Regions from separate parts of the Homo sapiens genome. Here region 2 is linked to region 1. Evidence: promoter capture Hi-C in 16 types of primary human blood cells and fetal thymus (Javierre and others, 2016). All regions are on one chromosome and are shown on one strand. The core of a region is centred on a gene start or on the middle of the fragment in contact, and the rest is flanking DNA. Distances in the headings are between cores, read along the strand shown. Region 1 holds the start of OR52K2 (olfactory receptor family 52 subfamily K member 2). Region 2 has its middle 9.3 kb from the start of LINC02749.

Region 1 (6,092 bases), core at 1,154-3,653:
ATGGATATTCCAATTATCCTGATTTGATCATTATCTATTATATGAATATATCAGAATATCACATATACTCCAAAAATATATATATCTAGCATGTAGCAATTTTTTATGTAATACATTATTTCTCTGGGGTATTTGTTTTTGTGTCAAAGGGAATTATAAGAGCAGAGGTGGAATATAAGGGGAAGTAAAACTCTAGGTTCTTGCTATACTCTTCCCTCCTGGACAGCTTCCAACCTTCTACACCCCACCTGAAATAGGCTTGGAAATTATCTTTCAAGGCTAAATAATATAGACAGGTAAATAGAGAAAGATACAGTGATAGCAAAAGAGATATATAATTTCTAAGCAATAATATCTGAGGAAACAAGTGGGTCAGAAGATAACAGCAGAACAATGTATTTATACAGGGCTTGTGTGAAAAGCTTAGCTGTGTTGTCAGGATTAATAGAGAATTATATAGTAGGTAAGTTCACATGAGACAGGAAAAGAGAAACATAATATTCTTGCCTCCTATCTGCTTGGTCTTGCTCTTCTTTTATTATGCTGGGCCTTGGGATGGAAATTTCAGAGAACAGAATCTATCATAATTATCATTTCCTTCTCTGTCTTAGGACAAATACACAAGTCTGACACCCCTAATTTAGTATATGTGTCCCCATCCCCTATCACAGATTTGGTGGAATTAGTAAATAAATGAGCCATTCTCATTCTTGAAAACATAAGATACATCTATGTGCAAAGAAAGAGTTGCATGAAACATAAAGCCAGAGGACATGTCTTATTCAAAGTACTTAATAAAAGGAATTGGACATAAGGATGGATTGGTAAATATAAGCAAAAGAATACACATACTGGCTTAGGTGAAAAAATGATTTTCTAGCAAGCATAGGTGTCTTACTCAGAACCTGCAGCCCTGGAATGTTTCAAACTTCCTAACACTGAGTGTTTCATCAGAAGCTGGACACCACCAGTCAGAATGAATGAAGGATTCCTATGTCAGATATACTGTTGGCCCTCACCCAGGTCCTGAGTAGATAGTTCACCAAATTCCCAATGACTAAGAAAAGAAACTCAGATTTTCAAAGTCTTCTCTTCAGCAAATGAAGTTGGAAGCATCTTTGTGTCTTTCGGTGAAGTCACCTGGAGACCCATGGGTCAAGTCTCTGTCAAGTTACTGATAGGGGTGAGGGCACTGTGAGAAGACAGCACAGTCAGCACATTCAATCCACAGGCTACCAGAGGACACAGACCCATGAGTCCTGAACAGACTGGTGGCTCTGAGTTTCAGGACATCATTTTTTTTTTTTCCAAGAAAAAACTAAACATGAAGATCCTGGCAGCCGTGCACATTCTACCATAGCCTGTCTCCAACTCCAGCAGACAAGCCAACCCATTCTTTCTCCACCTCACCCTCTACATATCCTTTCTTGGGAATACTCCCAAGATGCTCTCACGGATTTGCTTGGTCTTGACACCATAGATTATGGGATTGACCATGGGTGGGAAGAGCAGATAGAAATTGGCAAGGAGGATGTGGACATGAGGGGCAGCATGGCGGGCTACACGGTGCATGACTGAAGAGATGACCACAGTTGTGTAGAAGGCTAAGATGGCACCTATATGAGAGACACATGTCCCAAATGCCTTGTAGCGGGCCTCCTGAGAGGCAAGCAGTAGAACTGCCTGAAGAATAAAGATATAAGACAGGATAACAAGGAGCAGGTCCAACACCACAATAAACATGGCCACAGCGATGCCATAGATATTGTTGAAGCTAGTGTCCCCACACGCCAGCCTCACCACAGCCATGTGTTCACAGTAGCAGTGAGCGATCACTGGGCCTCGGCAGTAGTGGAAACATCTCAGCAGGAAGGGGAGTGGAGTCATTAGTGTCACAGCCCGGGCCACAGCAGCCATGCCAATCTTGGTGATGAGGGACCCAGTCAGGACCTTGGTGTAGTGCAGTGGCTTGCAGATAGCCACATAGCGGTCAAAGGCCATGGCCAGCAGCACTGCTGACTCCATGATGGAGAAGGAGTGAAGGAAGAACATCTGGGCCAGACAGGCAAAGAAGTTTATCTCCCGATCCCTGAACCAGAATATGGCAAGCATTTTGGGCAGTGCTGAGGAGGAAAGGACCAGGTCGATGGCTGCCAACATGGCCAGAAAGAGGTACATGGGTTCATGGAGGGCTGCATCAGCCTGGATGATGAGAAGGAGAGTGCAGTTTCCAAGCAGGGCCAGTGTATATGCTAAGCAGAAAGGGATGGAGATCCAGATGTGCAGGTGTTCCAGGCCTGGAATCCCCACCAACAAGAAGGCAGTTGGATGTGTTAAGGTGATATTGGAGGCTGACATGGCTCCTGGGAATTCTCTTCCTCCTTATCTGCTTCCACAGGGCCCTTCCAGAGAATATTCAATATCAGCAGAATTACAATGCTCACATTCAAACTCTGATCATTCTTGTGAGAAGATTAGTTCTTAGACCCATTTTTAGACATGAAAAGAAATGAGAAAATAATCATATGTATCATGAAATATTATGCATGATCCTTGCCCTTAAGCTGTTTATAAAAACACTGGGTGCTCAGGACATTTAATTCCAATAAAGCTAGTATTACAAAGCAGCCTTATTGAGAAATCAAGTGGAGGAAGAGCCTTTTGTGGCCTGCATGTGGCCAAAAGCAACTTTGTAAATAATACAGATTGCTGCTTAATTCAAATCATACCCACAAACATTTACCGTCACTGTCTTCCTATTGCCTTCCAATTCAAACTACACTCCCAATTATGAAAGAGTTTCTGCCCTGAAATGTCAATCTTGGTCATATGAAAAATAAATGTAGTTAGCACTTTCTAATAATTCACTTCCCTACAAGTTCTTTAGATTTTTTTTCTAGCAGGGTTTCGTAGGTCCTTGTTTGACACTCAGAAATCCCTCCAACTAAAGCCCTACCTCCAGGTAACTTGAGAACATGAGAAGCCCTTTTGTTGTTCTCTTTTGCCTAACTGTAGTTTAACCTTCATCTCTACGTGCTTCTTCCTTCCTGGACTTCATGACATTCAGAAGAAGAGATGCCCCACACTTACCTTTTTGCAAGACTGACCTATTCCCTTCACACTATTTTTCCATCTGGGATCCTTATCATTCTATCTTTTTCCACCTTCTGTTGTCATTTCCCTTGAAAACGTTTAAACATTTCCTTGCAATATTTTTGACCTGTGCCACCTTTTTTTTCAGCTCCTGCCTAAAAACTTTCTTTTGGGGATTTTGAGATCTTTTAAAACACTTAGCACAAATCTTGAAACAGTGCTCAGTAAACGTGGACACTTATGAATTGAGAAAACAAAAGACTAAGTCACTAACAATCAGAACAGTTGGAAAACGTCAAAGATGAAACTTGAGCTTCGAGAACTCTGGTTTGCTGCCTCCCAATCCAATGTCTTAAATCACTACACTCTTCTGCTTCTACCTCATTGCTTCCTAAGAAGTATAAATCCAGCATATTCAAGTTAACAGAAATATAACTCAAACTCATTATCATGATATAGGAAAAAAAATTAGAATCTAAAGACTTGGGTTTAAGTAATGATTGAGCCATCAGCCTACCAATAGAAACTAGTATTAATCACTGAAATTTTTAAAGATTTAGGTTCCTCACCTATAGATGAAGGCATAACCATATCTTCCATGACAATTTTACTGCTTCATGATGAGGAAAGATAAAATCATGAGAAGAGTCCCTGTAAACTGTAAAGCATTGTAAAACTGTTATTTGTCATTACAATATTCCCCCTCCCACACAAATCTGCCCCCTTTTTTAAAATGTTTTTCTTGACATCAGCACAATCCCGCATTCCTTGGCCTTATATCTCCCTCCATCTAACACCCGCAACTGTTTTCCTTCACAACAATGTTTGTTGAAAAAGTTGAGTAATTCATTATCTAATTCCTCATCTCTTAATTTTTAATTCCTTCCAATCTAGCTCCCATCTCCTCTACTCCCCTTATATGATCTTATCATTGCTTGTGTATTCCCCTCTCTCTCTCTTCTTTTCTCTCCTCTTTTTGTTGCCCTTTTATTCTCATACTTCTCTAGGTGCTCTCTTAGGTGGTAAAAATGCCAAGAGAAATCAATATTCAGGGAATGCTCAACTGTCTAGCTTCTACTCTGAGTTCCCAACTAGCATATCCTACTTCCCACTGGATAGTTCCACTTTAAAGTCTCAAACAAAATAGGGCCAAAACAGAAATCTGTCTCCACAAACTCTTTCCTCTCCATGACTTGCCCATCTCAGTATGTATTATTACCATCCATCCTATAGCTAGGTCAGAAACCCAGGGTGTAATCCTTGATTCAGTCCCCTTCCTCATCCTTTATATCCAATTTCAAAAGGCAAGTGTGATCGACCTATGTGTTCCAGTCCCTACTCTTTTTGTGTGCCTTGCCAAGCACTCTTATTTAAGTCACCATCATCTTTCATCTGGACTACAAAAGTCTTCTAACTCTTCTCAGTGGTATGGAATCTTGTACCTTCTATAATAATTCATTCTCTGTACTGCAGCCAAAAAGGCCATTTAAGAAAGCAAGTTCTATCAGGCAAGGCCTTCACTAAAGCCTTCATGGGCTACCATTGTACTTAGGATGGAATGCACATTCTAACTCTGGCTTACAAGATCCTGCTTGGTCTGGTCACTACTCACTTTTCAGCCTCATCTCTTCCACTTCTTTCATTATTCTCCAGGCATATGGCCTTCCACAGGTACTGGAGCTCATGGAGTTCTTTCTCAGTCAGTGATGGTGGCCCTTGATTCTGCCCCTGAATTGTCTCATGCTGTTCTTCTTCTCTCCATGCCCTGTGCCTTCCATAATTGACATATCATCATCTCTTTCCCCTGTCAGTATAAAAACCTCCTTAGTTTTCTACCCCTGCTCACCTCATCCACTACAGTGCGACAGACCACATATTTTATTAGTTTGGTGCAAAATTAATTGTGGTTTTTGCCATTACTTTTTATGCAAAAACCGCAATTGCTTTTGCACCAACCTAACACTTCCGTGCTGAAAACCACTTATAGGATCTCATTGCTACAAGAAAAATAAAAATCACTAAACTTTTGTGAAAACCTATTCCTGCCTAAATTGTTGGCCTTACTCCTTTTAGTCCCCTAAATATTCATCCTAGGTTCAACCACACTGGGTTATTTGCCATTTCCTAAAAGGGTAATGTTTGTAGCTCATACTGTTTATCTGGAATTCTTTCCTCTGTTCCCTTTCATACCTAATCAAGATCCTGCCACCTTCTTGGTGAAGTCTTTTCAGACTCTTTCAGGAAGATGTTCTCAGTCATTTCAATGAAGATTCACTAACGCATTGAATCAAATAGCACAATGAGGGTACCACCTGTGTTACCTCTGCATGTATCTCATAATTCATCGGGCCATGAATTCTTTGAGTACAAAGCCTGTGACTTTATTCACTTCTATATTCAGACTTTACTGAACATGGTTGATACTCAATAAGTGCCTTTTTATTTTTAACCTTTTTAAACTTTTAGGTTCAAGTCCTATGTGTATGTTTGTGATATAGGTAAATGTGTGCCACGGGGGTTTGTTGTACAGATTATTCCATCACTCAGGTACTAAACCTAATACCCAATAGTTACTTTTCTGCTCCTCTCCCTCCTCCCACCCTCCACCTTCAGATAGGCCCTCCATAAAGAACAGCACTAGGAAAAGAAAAGTGCTATTTTAAATGAATGCATGAATGATTCCCTTCCTGGAGAAACTTACTCCTTCCTTCCCACTGCATAATATACCACCCTCTGATCCAAACTGAGACTCACCTCCACAGATGCAAAATTCTATGAAATTTCCCGTCACTTTTTGTTACCTAGGTCAGACTAAAAGCCTCTTGTTAGAAACTCTGCCTCAAAGTCTAACTTATATCTGTGCATTTTCTCCAGGACTTAGCTTTGGGATGGACGCGTGGAAGCTCCATGATGAAAGGACTCTTTTGTGTCTTCACCACAACTATATCCCATATAGGCACTTGCTGACTATTTCTTGAATACACAAAAGAATGTCCTCT
Region 2 (5,883 bases), core at 1,636-4,135, 270 kb after region 1:
AGGAAGCCTCCTCATCTGGGCCAGGGGCCTACTTGCCTGCCGCCTCATGGAAGGTATTTACTGTTTTGTGCCGCTAACAGAATACCTGAGACTGGGAAATGTATAAAGAAATTTATTTGGCTCACAGTTCTGGAGGCTGGGAAGTCCACAGGCATGGTGCCGGCATCTGCTCAGCATCTGGTGAGGGCCTTCTTGCTGTGTCATCCTGCAGCAGAAGTGGAGGGACAAGAGAGCATGAGAGAGGAAGGGAAAGGGGACCAAACTCATCATTGTATCAGGAATCCATTCCTGTGATAATGGCATTAATCCATTCATGAGGGCAGAGTAATCCATTCATTACATAATCACCTCTTAAAGGTCCCACCTCTCAACATTGTTTCATTGGAGATTAAGTTGCCAATACATGAACTTTGGGGGACACATGCAAACCAAACCAGAAATTTTCTTTGGCCCACTTTCCTAGAAGAGCAGCTAAGGTTGGAGAGGCCAGAGGATCCCCCTGAGGGGACAGAGACCCATTTTTAAGACTAGATACAGCAGGATAGGAGGTATTAGCCTGAGTGAGTAGGGTGGGCAAGAGGAGAGGAGACCTGGCTTGTCCTGGTCCCATGCCTGCCTCATTTGGAGAAAACAATCTGCCCCCAGTGCCAAAAGCTCCTCCAGCTCCCAGCAATCAGGGTGAACTCAGGAGATAGGAGTCAGGGGGCCAACTCCAGACCTGGTTCTGTTACCAACTGGCTATGAGATTGCTCACTCCAAAGCTCAGTTCCCTCATCTGTAAAGTGGGTTGGTACCACCTACCTCCCAAGTGTTCGAAAAATCAAGTCAATTGGGGAACATGAAAGAGCTTCCCAAACTACAATCATACAAAATTCACTAGAAACATCACAAGTTTGATGCAGGAAGGGAAAGGCCATGAGAAGCCACCAGTCCAACATCTACCTTCTATGGAAGAGGAAATAAGAGTCCCTGGCCCAAGGGCACTTGCCAGAACCTGTGTCAGATCTCAAGCTTCTTGACTCGCTTCTCCTCTCTGCTTCCTTTCGGTGTACCCAGGCTGAGGCCTTGTACACTCAGTTTCCCAAGGCTGGGTGGTTGGGGTTGGTGTACAAAAAGGAGTTACAGATTAGAAGCTCTTAGAAGTCCTGCCCAAAGTTAGAGTGGATTATGCAGCCTGCAAACCAATGGTTAGCAGAGGAAGGGGTTGACTGAGAGCATCAGCTTGCAACTCCACCCCCCACCCCCAACAGAGGGGTGACAGTACATTTCATATGGCCTGAGGAAAGGCTACCCAACCTACAGCCTCTGCAGCTGCTGGATGATCCCAGGGTCAAAACAGAAGCCATTGGCACGGATTCCAGTGCCCCCAGCAGCAGTTACTATGCATTTCACAAGCCCTGAGGACAGACTCCCCTGCCCCACAGCCACTGCCACTGCCAAAGCACAAGCAAAGTGCATGCTCCCCAGCTCCCTGCCTACTGCTGCCAAAGCACAAGCAAAGTGCATGCTCCCCAGCTCCCTGCCTACTGCTGCCAAAGCACAAGCAAAGTGCATGCTCCCCAGCTCCCTGCCTACTGCTGCCAAAGCACAAGCAAAGTGCATGCTCCCCAGCTCCCTGCCTACTGCTGCTGCCACTGAAAGCAACCCTGTGCTCCCCAGTAGCAGGGTGGCAGTGACACCTCCACCCCAACATACCACCAGGAGCCTAGGGATCACCTGCCTCTGCCTAACACAGCCAGTGCCTACACACACTACTAAGGGGCCTAAGGAGCCAGGCCTGGCTCCACTCCTCCTTCCCAGTGCCTAAGCATGTCATCTTTGGGTATGGGAATCACCCAACCCAGTTCATCACCTTTGGCACCCAAACACTTTCCCAGGGCCTGAGATCAGGCCCACCCAACCTGCCTCTACCACCACAGCTGACACCCACACATACGTACGCACTATGTGCCTAGGGACTGGCCTCCCAAGCCCAATGCAGCCACCAGAAATTATTTAATAAAATCATGTATCAATAATAACCTTGAATACAAACAGATTAAACTTTCCAAATAAAAGACAAAGACTGGCTAAATGAATTAAAAAACATGACCCAACTATATGCTTCCTAAAAGAAACTCACCTTATGTATAAAGACACATATAGATTTAAACTAAAGGGATGAAAAAAGTCCATGCAAATGAAAACCAAAGGCAAGCAGGAATAGCTGTACATATAAGAGATAAGACAGACTTTAAGTCAAAAACAATAAAAAGAGATAAAGACAATCATTATATAATGATAAAGGGATCAATTTGGCAAAAGAATATAACAATTCTAAACATATATGCACCCAACATCAGAGCACCCAGATATATAAAGCAAATATTATTAGATGTAAAGAAAGAAGTAGACTCCAGTACAATAAGAGTTGTGAACTTCAACACCCCACTCTCAGCATTAAACAGATTATCTAGACCAAGCTTGTTCAACCTATGGCCTGCAGGCCACATGCAGCCCAGGATGGCTTTGAATGCAGCTCAACACAAATTCATAAACTTTCTTAAAACATAATGAGAGCTTTTGCAATTTATTTTAAGCTCATCAGCTATTCGTTAGTGTTACTGTATTTTATGTGTGGCTCAAGACAATTCTTTTTCCAATGTGCCTTAGGGAAGCCAAGAAATTGGACACCCCTGATCTAGACAGAAAATTAACAAAGAAACATTGAATTAAAACTGCACATTATACCAAATATACCTAACAAAAATTTACAGGACATTTCATCCAACAGCTACAAAACACACATTCTTCTCATCAGCATATGGAACATGCTCCAGGATAAACCATATGTTAGCACACAAAACAAGTCTCCACAAATTTTTAAATATCAAAATCATATGAAGTACCTTCTCAGACCACAATAAAATAAAACCAGAAGTTAATAACAAGAGGAATGTTGGAAACTGCACAAATATATGGAAATTAAACAACATGTCCCTGAATGGCCATTGGATCAAAAAAGAAATTTAAAAGGAAATCAAAAAATTTCTTGAAACAAATGAAAATCAAAACACAACATACCAAAATCTATGGGATACAGCAAAAGCAGTGCTAAATGGTAGTTTATAGCAATAAATGCCTACATCAAAAAAGTGGAAAGAATTCAAATAATCTAACAATGCACCTCAAGGAATGAGAAAAGCAAGAGAAAACCAAAACCAAAATTAGTGGAAGAAAAAGTCTACACTGTATGTATCAAAACATAACTTGGGATTCCATAAATATGTACTATTATTATATGCCAATTAAAAAAGAAAACAAGCTTTTAAAAATAAAATAAAATACCTAGGAATAAATTTAATCGTGAGGCAAAAAACAAGGAAAACTACAAAACACTGATGAAATAAATTAAAGAGGACACAAACAAATGGAAAGAGAGCCTATGTTCTTAAATCAAAATAATTGATGTCCTTAAGATGACTATACTGGCCGGGCACGGTGGCTCACACCTGTAATCCTAACACTTTGGGAAGCCGAGGCAGGTGGATCACCTGAGGTCAGGAGTTCAAGACCAGCCTGGCCAACATGGTGAAACCCCATCTCTATTAAAAATACAAAGTTAGCCAGGCATGGTGGCACACACCTGTAATCCCAGCTACTCAGGAGGCTGAGGAAGGAGAATCGCTTGAACCTGAGAGGTGGAGGTTGCAGTGAGCCAAGATTGTGCCACTGCACTCCAGCCTGAGCAACGGGAGTGAGACTCCATCTAAAAAAAAAAAAAAAAAAAAAAAAAAAAGATGACCACACTGCCCAAAAAAACCACAGATTCAAGGCAATCACTATCAAAATACCAATGTCAGTTTTGACAGAAATAGAAAAAACAACACTAAAACTATTCTGGAACCAAAAAGGAGCCTAAATAGCCAAAGCAATCCTGAGCAAAAACAACAAAGCCGAAAGTTTCACACTAGCTGACTTCAGAATATATCACAAAGCTATATTAACCAAAGCAGCATGCTATTGGAATAAAAACAGACACATAGAACAATAAAACAGAATAGAGAATCCAGAAATACATGCATGTGTTTACAGCCAATGATTTCCAACAAAAGTGCCAAGAATATACATTGAAGGACAGTCTCTTGAATAAACAGTGCTGGGAAAGTTGGATATCCATATGTGAAAGAATGAAACTAGACCCTATTTCTCACTATACAAAAAATCAACTCAGGATGGATTAAAGACTTAAACGTAACACCCAAAATTATAAAACCAATAGAAGAAAGCATAAAGCACAGGGAAACACTTTAGGACTTTGGTGTAGGCAAAGATTTTATGGCTAAGACATCAAAAGCATAGGCAACAAAAACAAAACTAGACAAATGGGACTATATTAAACTAAAAAGTTTCTGTGCAGCGAAGGAAACAATCAATAAAGTGAAGAGACGACCTCCTGATTGGGATAAAATATTTACAAATTATTCATCCAACAAAGAACTAATATCCCGAGAATATCCAAGGAATTCAAACAGCTCAGCAGTAAGAAAACAAATAACCTCATTTAAAAGTGGGCAAAGTGGGGAGGAGCCAAGATGGCCGAATAGGAACAGCTCCCGTCTACAGCTCCCAGCGTGAGCGACGCAGAAGACGGGTGATTTCCGCATTTCCATCTGAGGTACCGGGTTCATCTCACTAGGGAGTGCCAGACAGTGGGCGCAGGTCAGTGGGTGCGCGCACCGTGCGCGAGCCGAAGCAGGGTGAGGCATTGCCTCACTTGGGAAGCGCAAGGGGTCAGGGAGTTAGTTCCCTTTCCCAGTCAAAGAAAGGGGTGACGGACAGCACCTGGAAAATCGGGTCACTCCCACCCGAATACTCCGTTTTTCCGACGGGCTTAAAAAACGGCGCACCACCAGATTATATCCCACACCTGGCTCGGAGGGTCCTACACCCACGGAGTCTCGCTGATTGCTAGCACAGCAGTCTGAGATCAAACTGCAAGGCGGCAGCGAGGCTGGGGGCGGGGCGCCTGCCATTACCCAGGCTTGATTAGGTAAACAAAGCAGCCTGGAAGCTGGAACTGGGTGGAGCCCACCATAGCTCAAGGAGGCCTGCCTGCCTCTGTAGGCTCCACCTCTGGGGGCAGGGCACAGACAAACAAAAAGACAGCAGTTACTTCTGCAGACTTAAATGTTCCTGTCTGACAGCTTTGAAGAGAGCAGTGGTTCTCCCAGCACGCAGCTGGAGATCTGAGAACGGGCAGACTGCCTCCTCAAGTGGGTCCCTGACCCCTGACTCCCGAGCAGCCTAACTGGGAGGCACCCCCCAGCAGGGGCACACTGACACCTCACACGGCAGGGTATTCCAACAGACCTGCAGCTGAGGGTCCTGTCTGTTAGAAGGAAAACTAACAAACAGAAAGGACATCCACAGCAAAAACCCATCTGTACATCACCATCATCAAAGACCAAAAGTAGATAAAACCACAAAGATGGGGAAAAAACAGAACAGAAAAACTGGAAACTCTGAAAAGCAGAGCACCTCTCCTCCTCCAAAGGAACGCAGTTCCTCACCAGCAACGGAACAAAGCTGGATGGAGAATGACTTTGATGAGCTGAGAGAAGAAGGCTTCAGACGATCAAATTACTCTGAGCTACGGGAGGACATTCAAACCAAAGGCAAAGAAGTTGAAAACTTTGAAAAAAATTTAGAAGAATGTATAACTAGAATAACCAATACAGAGAAGTGCTTAAAGGAGCTGATGGAGCTGAAAACCAAGGCTCGAGAACTACGTGAAGACTGCAGAAGCCTCAGGAGCCGATGCAATCAACTGGAAGAAAGGGTATCAGCGATGGAAGATGAAATGAATGAAATGAAGCGAGAAGGGAAGTTTAGAGAAAAAAG

What was found. The method cuts DNA at HindIII sites, captures the fragments that hold promoters and counts their contacts. A CHiCAGO score of 5 or more calls a contact.
Region 2: a contact is called between a fragment that was not itself captured here and the fragment with the promoter of OR52K2 in region 1, in 13 of 17 cell types (naive CD4 T cells, total CD8 T cells, naive CD8 T cells and 10 more). The highest score is 9.8, in naive CD4 T cells.

Annotation. Positions count from the first base shown.
Region 1 is chr11:4,445,606-4,451,697 of GRCh38, reverse strand. It overlaps OR52K2 (olfactory receptor family 52 subfamily K member 2), which reads right to left and starts at 2,403. Exons shown (of 1, transcript NM_001005172.2): 1 at 1,337-2,403. The coding sequence starts at 2,358. The coding sequence ends at 1,414. The HindIII fragment of the contact is 8,565 bases long and covers 425-6,092 here.
Region 2 is chr11:4,174,954-4,180,836 of GRCh38, reverse strand. No RefSeq gene overlaps it. Among named protein-coding and RNA genes, the nearest start is that of LINC02749, 9.3 kb to the left of the region's middle. RefSeq lists enhancers at 1,043-1,569, 1,570-2,097. The HindIII fragment of the contact is 842 bases long and covers 2,465-3,306 here.